Linked DNA regions of Homo sapiens: region 1 is linked to region 2. Evidence: promoter capture Hi-C in human tissues and cell types (Jung and others, 2019). All regions are on one chromosome and are shown on one strand. The core of a region is centred on a gene start or on the middle of the fragment in contact, and the rest is flanking DNA. Distances in the headings are between cores, read along the strand shown. Region 1 overlaps PHF12 (PHD finger protein 12). Region 2 holds the start of NUFIP2 (nuclear FMR1 interacting protein 2).

Region 1 (4,954 bases), core at 1,269-3,768, 390 kb after region 2:
GCTAAGATGGGAGGATCGCTTGAGTCTGGGAGGTCAAGGCTGCAGTGAGCTATGATTGTGCCACTGCACTCCAGCCTGGGTGACAGAGTGAGACCCTGTCTCCAAATAAATAAGTAAATAAATAAATAAAATTTTAAAAAGAATGGCTTCCCAAGAGGGAACTTTTCAAGTTCAAGTTGAGAAATAGAATAACACTAGGCCAACCTTCTGGAAATTTTCCCCAAGTGGTTAACTCTGTTTCAGATATGTCTGAGCATTGGCCATTAAGAGCCTTGCTGCTTCAAAGTGTGGTTCGCAGACCAGCAGCATCAGCAGCCCCTGAGAGCTTGTTAGAAATGCAGAGCTCAATGCATTGGTTTTTTGCCTATTTTTAAAGAAAACAGCAAAAGAAATGCAGAGCTAAGGCCCCTCCTCAGACCTATTGAATCAGAATCTGCATTTCAACAAGATCTGTAGGCGATTCTTATGCACATTAAAGTTTGAGAAACACTGGTCCATGCCGTCTGTTTTTCCATATTCTCCCTATAGTACCAGCTGGAATATCCCGGATTAGCCAGCCAGGAGCCCAGGAACTTACACAGTACTGTCATCTCTGACTTCTCTGACCATCTTCAAAGATGGTCCTCTGTACCCTGTGTTGGAAATGCTGTGGGTGGGGAGAGAAAGCCTTACCCTGCCGCAGCTCAGTGTTGGATGTGAGTTTGGAAAGATGAGTCATCCAGCGGGATTTTCTCCAGGCCATGAGCCAAAGGTCCAGATTTTGTTGGTTTATGTTTGGATCACAGGATCTGAGTTTCTGAATGATCCTATTCCTATGTTTGTCTTGTAGTGCAAAGAAAGGAGGTACAGGCCCGAGCTGTGTTCTACCCCCTCTTAGGGTTGGGAGGAGCTGTGAACATGTGCTATCGAACCCTCTACATCGGGACAGGTGAGCCAGCCAGGAAGCTGGGAGAGACACTGAATCTGTTCAGCCCTAAAGACTGACACCCTTACCCACAGAAGTTAGAAAGGGGTGAGGGAAGCCCTTTCCAGAGTTGACTGCTTTAAATCAGTGGATAGCTAGACAAGAGAAACTAAGAATAGAGACAATCAGCCAGTCACGGTGGCTCACGCCTATAATCCCAACACTTTGGGAGGACAAGGCAGGAGGAACACTTGAGCCCAGGACTTCGAGACCAGCCTGGGCAACATGGTGAAACCCTATCTCTACCAAAAACAAATATAAAAAATTAGCTGGGCTAACATGCCTATAGTCCCAGCTACTTGGGAGGCTGAGGTGGGAAGATCACCTGAGGCTGGGAGGTCCAGGCAGTGATCCTTTTTGTGCCTCTGCACTCCAGCCCAGGCAACAGAGTGAGACCCTGTCTCAAAAATAAAAGAGACAATCAGTTCCTTGTCTTCCCTTGTTCAGGCCCTTTTGCTTTGTCTTTGCCCAGTGTTGCAACAGCAGAGATGAAAGTCAGCTCTGACTACTGCCCAGGGAGGCACTTTAAACACTGCAGGGAAGAACCTAAGGAGAAGGCAGATGCTTTGTCCCTGGTGGTCTTTGAAAGAGTGATAGACTCACACATACCCAATCTTCAGTTAGCCCTGTATCTGTTTTTTGTTTTGTTTTGTTTTCCCTAAAAGTCCTAGAGACCGATAGCTCTGTATCTGGTACAGAAGGACAGACAGATTAGCCCTTACCCTAGAAACTTCCCTTTCTTTAAGGTGATAAGATTTTCTAGGCTCTGCACCCCGATGTTGTATTTTCATAGAAATATCCCATCCTCTTCAGTAGCTCACTCTTCCCTTCTGGGTAGCAGCCACATGTTCTAAAGCAGATCAGCTGGCAGGGACAGCTGTTCTTTATCAGGAGCTTGGAAAAGACAACAGTTTTTGTTCAAAAATAAAAGGGGAGGGCCCTGAGCTACTCACCCTTGAAGTCTCTGCTAGTGCCAACCCAGAAGCTAACTCTCTCCCTGTCTTACCTCCCCGACACATGCACCTTACAATCTGTTCTCTGCCTTCCTTTTCCTCTACTCCTGCCACCTTGCAGGAGCTGACATGGATGTGTGCCTTACAAACTATGGTCACTGTAACTACGTGTCCGGGAAACATGCCTGCATATTCTACGATGAGGTGAGGGCCGGAGATGCGGTGGGAGGGAGCTTTCCCAACCTGAGGCCTCTCCCAGGCAGTAGGTTTTTGTTCAGTGCCCTGAGGGGAGGGAAGAGGGATTGGGGGTCCTCTCTTTTTCTTCCCTCCCTGTCATTCCTGGAGGAGGAGAGTCTTGATGTGAAATAGCATCCTACCTGGGAAGCTACCTGCTTCCCAGGAGCAGGGCTACCATTTTTCCTGAGGTTAGTCACAGGCACAACAGAGGGAGCCTACCCTAAAGCAAGGGAGGGGACCAGCATAGAAGGAAGCCAAGCCTTGTGGGTGTGTCCCTGTGAATTTCATTATCATCACGGGCCAGTGAGTATCATACCAAGAGGAGCGGTGCTGAGAGGGCAGAGTGAAGGAGTGGGAGAGTAGGGAGTGTGGGACACCAGAAGGAAAGCTTCCCTGAGGAGGTGTCTCCAGCCCCCTTCTGAAAGGACAGGGGCCATGACTGGGGAGGCAAGTAAGGACTCTCTAGGTAGAGTAGCACGGCCTTCTCCATATGTCCTCTCTCCCCTTAGCCCCAGGCCCCACACAGCAGACCACACATCTTATCTCCCCTCCTCCTCCTCAGAATACCAAACATTATGAGCTGTTAAACTACAGTGAGCATGGGACAACGGTGGACAATGTGCTGTATTCATGTGACTTCTCGGAGAAGACCCCGCCAACCCCCCCAAGCAGTATTGTTGCCAAAGTGCAGAGTGTCATCAGTAAGTTGGAGCAGAGATCTGTGGCCACAAAGCTGAGGCCCCAGTCAGGGTGGTTCTGACTTGCTGCCCATGGTCTGTCTCTTGCCTTCCCAGTCCTATTGGCCAAGCTCTACTTCCTCGTGGGCCCAGGGCAGGCCACAGAGAAGCAAGTGCTGAGTACCCCCATGTGTGTACACACCTGTGGGGACTTCAGACTCCACCAACCCTTTCTGAGCATCCTTCCTCCCTAGTCATGCAGCAGTTGGAATGGGGAGATGCAGGAGCCCAACCTTGGCAAACAGCCCACATGGGTTGGCTGCTCACTGTTCCTCTTCTGTGACCATCCCCCTTTTTCCCAGGGCGCCGCCGGCACCAGAAACAGGACGAAGAGCCAAGTGAGGAGGCAGCCATGATGAGTTCCCAGGCCCAGGGGCCGCAGCGGAGACCCTGCAATTGCAAAGCCAGCAGCTCGAGCTTGATTGGGGGCAGTGGGGCCGGCTGGGAGGGCACAGCCTTACTGCACCATGGCAGCTACATCAAGCTGGGCTGCCTGCAGTTTGTCTTCAGCATCACTGAGTTTGCGACCAAACAGCCCAAAGGCGATGCCAGCCTGCTGCAGGATGGGGTCTTGGCCGAGAAGCTCTCTCTCAAGCCCCACCAGGGCCCTGTGCTGCGCTCCAACTCTGTTCCTTAGGACTGGCGGCTACCCCGCCACTGGCCTGTACACCCACCCAAGACTCCTGCAATGCAAAAATGTACACAAACCAAGCCCGGGTGTTTTCTATACTCTACCAGAAACCCTTCAACTACAATCTTTGCATGAAATGAAGAAAACCTTTTGACTGTTTTTTAAAAATCCTTTTTCTTTTCTCAAGTTCTAGGGGGCATTTGCACATATATTTGTACTCAACATTTCATGGGAAAGCGGCAGACCTGAGCTGAGGAACAGCGTGGGCAGGGAGGGAAAGACCCAGGGTCTGGACACTTCCTCCAACACAAAACCCTTCCCCACCCACCTCCTGCTCCCTCCCCCTCGCCCACCATTGTAAAATAATCAGAAACTTGTTCTATTTTGTGGCAGTGACAATAGTTTTATATTAAAAGAAAAAATACAGTTTTCATACAGCAAAATCTATACAATATCATTGTTTTATTTAATATAAAGATCGCTACCCACCTTCCTTCCATGGTTCCCACCCTCCACGTTATTTTCCCTTTCTGCAGCGGTTGCACTACAGGTAGCTACTGTGTATTATGGACAAATGAGAAATGAATTCTTTTTCTGGCTGTCCATCTATTTTATTTCAAATAAGGAAAAGTGTATTTGGATTTTGTGTAAATACATCTAGTGATGACATTTTTTCAATGTTTTTAAAAACCGTGTACAGTACTACATGTGGTAGAGCGTTTTCTCAAATTGTCTATTGTAGCAAAAATGTTTTTGTCGTAAACCTGTTTTGTCTCCTTTTTTTGTTCTCTTGCCACTTCTCTCCTCTTCCTCCTGCCCCTGGTTCCCTCCTCTCCTCCCACCCCCACAACCAGTACCAATGTACATAGTAATTGTAATGTTTTAGACTTTACAGAAACTTTCCTGTATTCTGTATATAAAAAACAAAAATACTTCAAATTGTTTTCTGACTGTCTGTCCTACCTGTCATCACCCTTAGAGGAGACCCTCCCCTAGATCTGGGTCTAGCAGGTGGGGGGCCTTTTGAACAGGTCTCATTCCCATAGGGAAGTTTGGTAGGGGAGGTGTTGGAGAAAAGTGAGCCAGGGTGGGTGGATGACAATGGAATGACATGGGTGCGTCTGCTGGCCCGGGGGGAGCTGTTTCTCCAGAGAACCCTGACTGATAGTGGAATCTAGTCTTGACCTGTCACTTCTAGTCATGTGATCTGCAGTCACACTTCTCTACAACTGCTATTCCTCATCAAAAAACGAGTCTGCTGCATTACCTTAATTCTCAAGTCCCGGGGACCTTCATTAAACCAAATTCCATGCTTTCCTCCCAGATCTTAGTGAAAAACTCTCCAGGAAGTTTTCCTGAGGTCAGCCTCCTCAGATGGAGAGCACCTCTGTGTATATTCCAGCACTGTTTGTGTAGGTGCATCTGCTTGTGT
Region 2 (4,584 bases), core at 1,091-3,590:
CCCAGGCTGGTCTCGAACTGCTGGGTCAACTGATCTGCCATGGTCTCCCAAAGCGTTGGGATTACAGGTGTGAGCCACCACACCTGACCTGTTTTTTCTTTAATAATTGGGAACGTGGCAGAATATTATTCAGTGGTAAAGACTTATTGTGATATGATATTATTATTAGGGTTTTCATTCTCAAAATTGGGTAAATGTACCCCCAAAGAGGTTTTTCTTTAAAATTTAGCAAAGCTGGCTGGGCCTGGTGGCTCATGAATCCCAGCACTTTGGAAGGCTGAGGTGGGCAGATCACCTGAGATCAGGAGTTCGAGACCAGCCTGGCCAACATGGAGAAACCCCATCTCTATTAAAAATACAAAATTAGCCTGGCACAGTGGCGCATGCCTGTAATCCCAGCTACTCAGGAGGCTGAGGCAGGAGAATTGCTTGAACCCAGGAGGCAGAGGTTGCGGTGGGCTGAGATCATGCCATTGCACTCCAGCCTGGGCAACAAGGACAAAACTCCATCTCAAAATAAAATAAAATAAAATTTAACAAGGCAACACAAATCCTTACTGTATAGAACATGCCAAAATTTGGTCATGGTTTTCAGGATTCAATGACATTTGTTATTGGAAACCAGCTTTTACGTTTTAAATAAGCTTTTGCATTGACATTCATTAATTTCATAGCATAAACTTTTTGCTTTCAAGCTTCTTGTTCCTTTAATGTTGTCCTGTTGTAGGAATTCAAGCCACATTTTAAAAATTCAAAAACGTAACATACATTGAGGAAACAGTCCATATGTCCGTTGCTGAGTGAATGAACAAAATGTGGTATATACATATAATGGAATATTAGTCAGCCTTAAAAAAGAGGGAAATTCTGATGTATGCTACTCTGAAGACATTATGCAAAAAAGCTAGTCACAAAAAGACAAATACAGTACAATCCCACTTATATGAGGTACCTAGAATAGTCAAGTTCGTAGAGACAGAAAACAGAACAGTGGTTATCAAGGGATGGAAGGAGGAGGGAAAGGACATTTATTTTTATTGGGTATGAAGTTTCAGTTTGGAATGATGAAAAAGTTCTGGAGATAGATGATGGTCATGGTTCTACAACAATACGAATGTACCTAATGCACCTGAACCATACACTTAATATTAAGATGGTAAATTTTATATTATGAATATTTTACAATTAAAAAAATCCCCCAATCTATAACATACATTGGGAAAAGTGCATTTTATCTGTATATTCAGTTTAACAAATAATTACTAAGCAAATATATGTAATCACCACCTAGCCCCCAAAATGAAATATTATCAGAGTAACCTGTGTCCCTCCCCATCACAACCCTCTTCCTTCCTGAGTAACCACTATCATGGCTCTAACATTTGCTTTTGAAAATCATATACTGTGATGTGGTAATGCAGGATAAGTTAAATCTACACTACAAAACGCTACAGAATATTTCTTTTAATTTCAATTTTTCCATAAGTGCCAAAAAAAAAAAAAACAAACCCACTTAATAACTTTTAAGTGCTCTTTCTCCCCTTCCTTTGCTCTTGAAACTTCTCATTCTAAAACCTATTTTGGTTCCACAGTTGACCTCACCTGCAGAGTTTAATTAAAAAAAAAAAAACCTTCAGTGTAAATTTTCATTCCTCCTGCTCTCCCTTGCCTCCAACTACAAAGAAACAATGATTTAAACCCTTTGTGCCCTTTTAGAAAATTACACAGATACCCCATTGTGGAACCCTATAATCCCTTCGTGGAAAGGAAGAGATTAGCATATGAATACAAAGCAAAATGAATCCAGAATACAAAATGATCTACTGGATTGTGAAGCTCTTGTATGCTTAAAAATGTATTTATTTCCTCTTTTTGTATTGCCCCTTTAGTGGTCTCGGGGTTAAGGGAATTGAGCTTCCCTTTCTGGTTACCCGGAAAAGGATTAAAAACAAAACAAAACAAAAAACAAAAAAACACCAGATTCTAAGAGGTGCAAAGCCAGCAGATGGCTCACAGCACCAGTGGAATCGCCAGTGGAATCTGCTACCCTCGACACGAGCCTGCTTGCCGGCGAGGAGTGTAGAAAGTGCTGTTCACAGACTGCGTGGTGAAGGAGAGAAAGCGACAGAAGAGAGAGCCATAGTGCTGACGTTGAAGGCCCGGCCCTGTGAGGTTGCACAGGGTAAGTGGCGTTGGCCAGGCGGCAGCGGCGAAGGGGAAGGAAAGAGGATTTGAGCTGGGGGCGGGGCTTGCGGCACAGCGTGGCTCCTGATTGTTGGAGTGCGGCTGCCAATCTCGCAGAATCGCTCGGTTAACCAGTGCGCTGGCGAGACGCGCTCAGATATACTGAGTGAGCCCTGAGAAGCAGTCTCAGATCCTGACGGTGCAGCAGCCCGCAGCCTCAGCCAGGGAGTCCCAGCCGCTTTCAATGGAGGAGAAGCCCGGCCAGCCACAGCCTCAGCACCATCACAGCCACCACCATCCGCACCATCACCCTCAGCAGCAGCAGCAGCAGCCGCACCACCACCACCATTATTATTTCTACAACCACAGCCACAACCACCACCACCACCATCATCACCAGCAGCCTCACCAATACCTGCAGCATGGAGCCGAGGGCAGCCCCAAGGCCCAGCCAAAGCCGCTGAAACATGAGCAGAAACACACCCTCCAGCAGCACCAGGAAACGCCGAAGAAGAAAACAGGTCTGGGAGGGAGGACGGGTGGGGGAAGGGGGTTGGGGGTGGAGGACAGGAGAGATGGGGGTGGGGCTGGATCCGAAAAGCGCGGACGGGGTCGGGGTGTGTGTGTGTGTGTCCCCTCCGGCTCTGGGGATGCCCCTTTCATTCTAGAGCTCGGGCTGAGCAATGGGGTTTGCAGCGCCCTCTCCTTCCCTCCAGCATGGGAGAGGCCCAGCCAGGCCAGCGTGACCTTCCTGGCCCCGGCCCCGGCTGAAGGGAGACCTGCTGGGTCGGCCTTGCAAGTCCAACCTCATTATTCTTTTCCCATTCACCTCCCTGCGTCCCTGGAGTTACCTCAATTTGGGGGCCCTGAGATGGGGTAAACCTACCCCCCCAAAAAATCCCTCGAGGTGTAACTCAGGAAGGCCTAGCGAATCCCGACTCGGATGGTGTCGCGAGACCCTTTTGCAGGCGGCGAGGAGTGGGTAGGTAGGGTGAGTTGAGGAAGTGCCCCTCACCCGCCACCCCAAGCCCACCTGTGGCCTTGGGGCTCCCCGTCTCGGTGGGGGGGGCTGTTGGGACCCCTCATCTCACGGGTCATTTCCACCACTAAACGCCCTTTTTGGGCGCCGGACCCCGCAGTCTTGTCCCGCGGCTCCTCCCGAGGCCGGCGCCCCGCGCCCGCTCCCCCCAGAGCCGGCGCGGCTGGAATGTTCTCTCCTCCTCGCGGGGCCGCTTCCTGTCCGCCATGTTGGAAGCCGATTCCTGTCACCGACTCCGGCCCACTGAGGAGCGGAGGGGGAAGGGTGTCGAGGGCCACACGGGGCGGCGGAGCCGGGTGACCCGGGATCACCACCGGCCGCAGCCTCGCCCCCTGCACTGCGGGGGCGCCGGCGCCCCCCGCACCGCGGCCGCCCCCCCCCCCGTCGCCGGCCGGGGTTGTGTAACCCGGTGGCGGCGCGCGGCCCCGGGCGGGTCCCTGGGGTGAGGGGCGGGGGCGGTTGGGGTGGGGGAGGGAAGCGGCCACGAGGGGAGCGGCCTGCGCAGGGCCCCGCGCGCCAGCGGCCGCGTTTCCCGCTCCCGGGTGCGGCGGGAGGCGCGGGCAGTCGGGGCGGGGAGCCGGCCTCGAAGCGGAGCTGAGAGGGAAGGAGGCCGCGGGCGGCGGCCGCGGCGCTCCTAGAGGCAGGAGGCCTGGGGGGGCGGCGGGGGGATTCATTTCGGGTAGAGGCGGTGCCTGAGGCCGGGTGGGGTACCCAGCGGGAACCCAGCTCCCCGGTCACGAGTTTCTCTGCCACAGGAACCTCGTCTCCTGCCAGGTTCGCTCACGACTCCGCCTCTGAGGCTTTCACTTGGGCCTTTTCCTTCTAGCAGCTCATTTTCTACAAAAAAAAAAAAAAAATCCAAAAACCTTGTTCCATTCCCCTCCCGACCCAGCACTTACCTTCTGAGCTTGGGTAGTGTCTTTGAGGTGAGGGATTTTAAAAAATGTTAGGATGGGGAAGAGTGCGAGCTTTTTGACCCCTCTTTCTTGTCCTTAAGGGTGAACCCAAGTGGCTCATCCATGAGGTTAGACTACTACCATCTTGCCTCGGATGAGGCTTCTCTCCGTGTTAAAAAGAAAGGTGTTTTTCGTATTTTAAAATCGATATTGATCCCCAAACTAATCTTAATAAACGAGAAATTGAGGGTAAAAGTCATGTAAGAAAGTATTTCACGAGAAGTGAGTTTAATAGTTTATAACCCACGCAGATTTTAAAAAATAAGGGCTCTTTATAAATCGAAGAGAAATGAAGCGTAAGAAAGCGTATGTTAAACCCAGCGTATCAAATTTGATAGAAGGAATTGTTGAGAGCTGGAGAAATACTAAGTGCTTTTTTATTGCAGATTGTAACTTGAAGACTGA

What was found. The method cuts DNA at HindIII sites, captures the fragments that hold promoters and counts their contacts. A contact is called where the count stands out against the background at its distance.
Region 1: a contact is called between a fragment that was not itself captured here and the fragment with the promoter of NUFIP2 in region 2, in 1 of the 25 tissues and cell types used here (aorta).

The regions. Positions count from the first base shown.
Region 1 is chr17:28,904,757-28,909,710 of GRCh38, reverse strand. PHF12 (PHD finger protein 12) reads left to right here. Exons shown (of 15, transcript NM_001033561.2): 12 at 830-928; 13 at 2,039-2,121; 14 at 2,717-2,855; 15 at 3,194-4,461. The coding sequence ends at 3,528. Among named protein-coding and RNA genes, the nearest start is that of DHRS13, 4.2 kb to the right of the region's middle. RefSeq lists a silencer at 686-980 and an enhancer at 3,365-3,865. The HindIII fragment of the contact is 5,059 bases long and covers 1-4,954 here.
Region 2 is chr17:29,291,904-29,296,487 of GRCh38, reverse strand. It overlaps NUFIP2 (nuclear FMR1 interacting protein 2), which reads left to right and starts at 2,340. Exons shown (of 4, transcript NM_020772.3): 1 at 2,340-2,705. The coding sequence starts at 2,429. RefSeq lists enhancers at 1,972-2,171, 2,482-2,581, 2,275-3,035 and silencers at 2,742-2,861, 3,492-3,671. The HindIII fragment of the contact is 16,686 bases long and covers 1-4,584 here.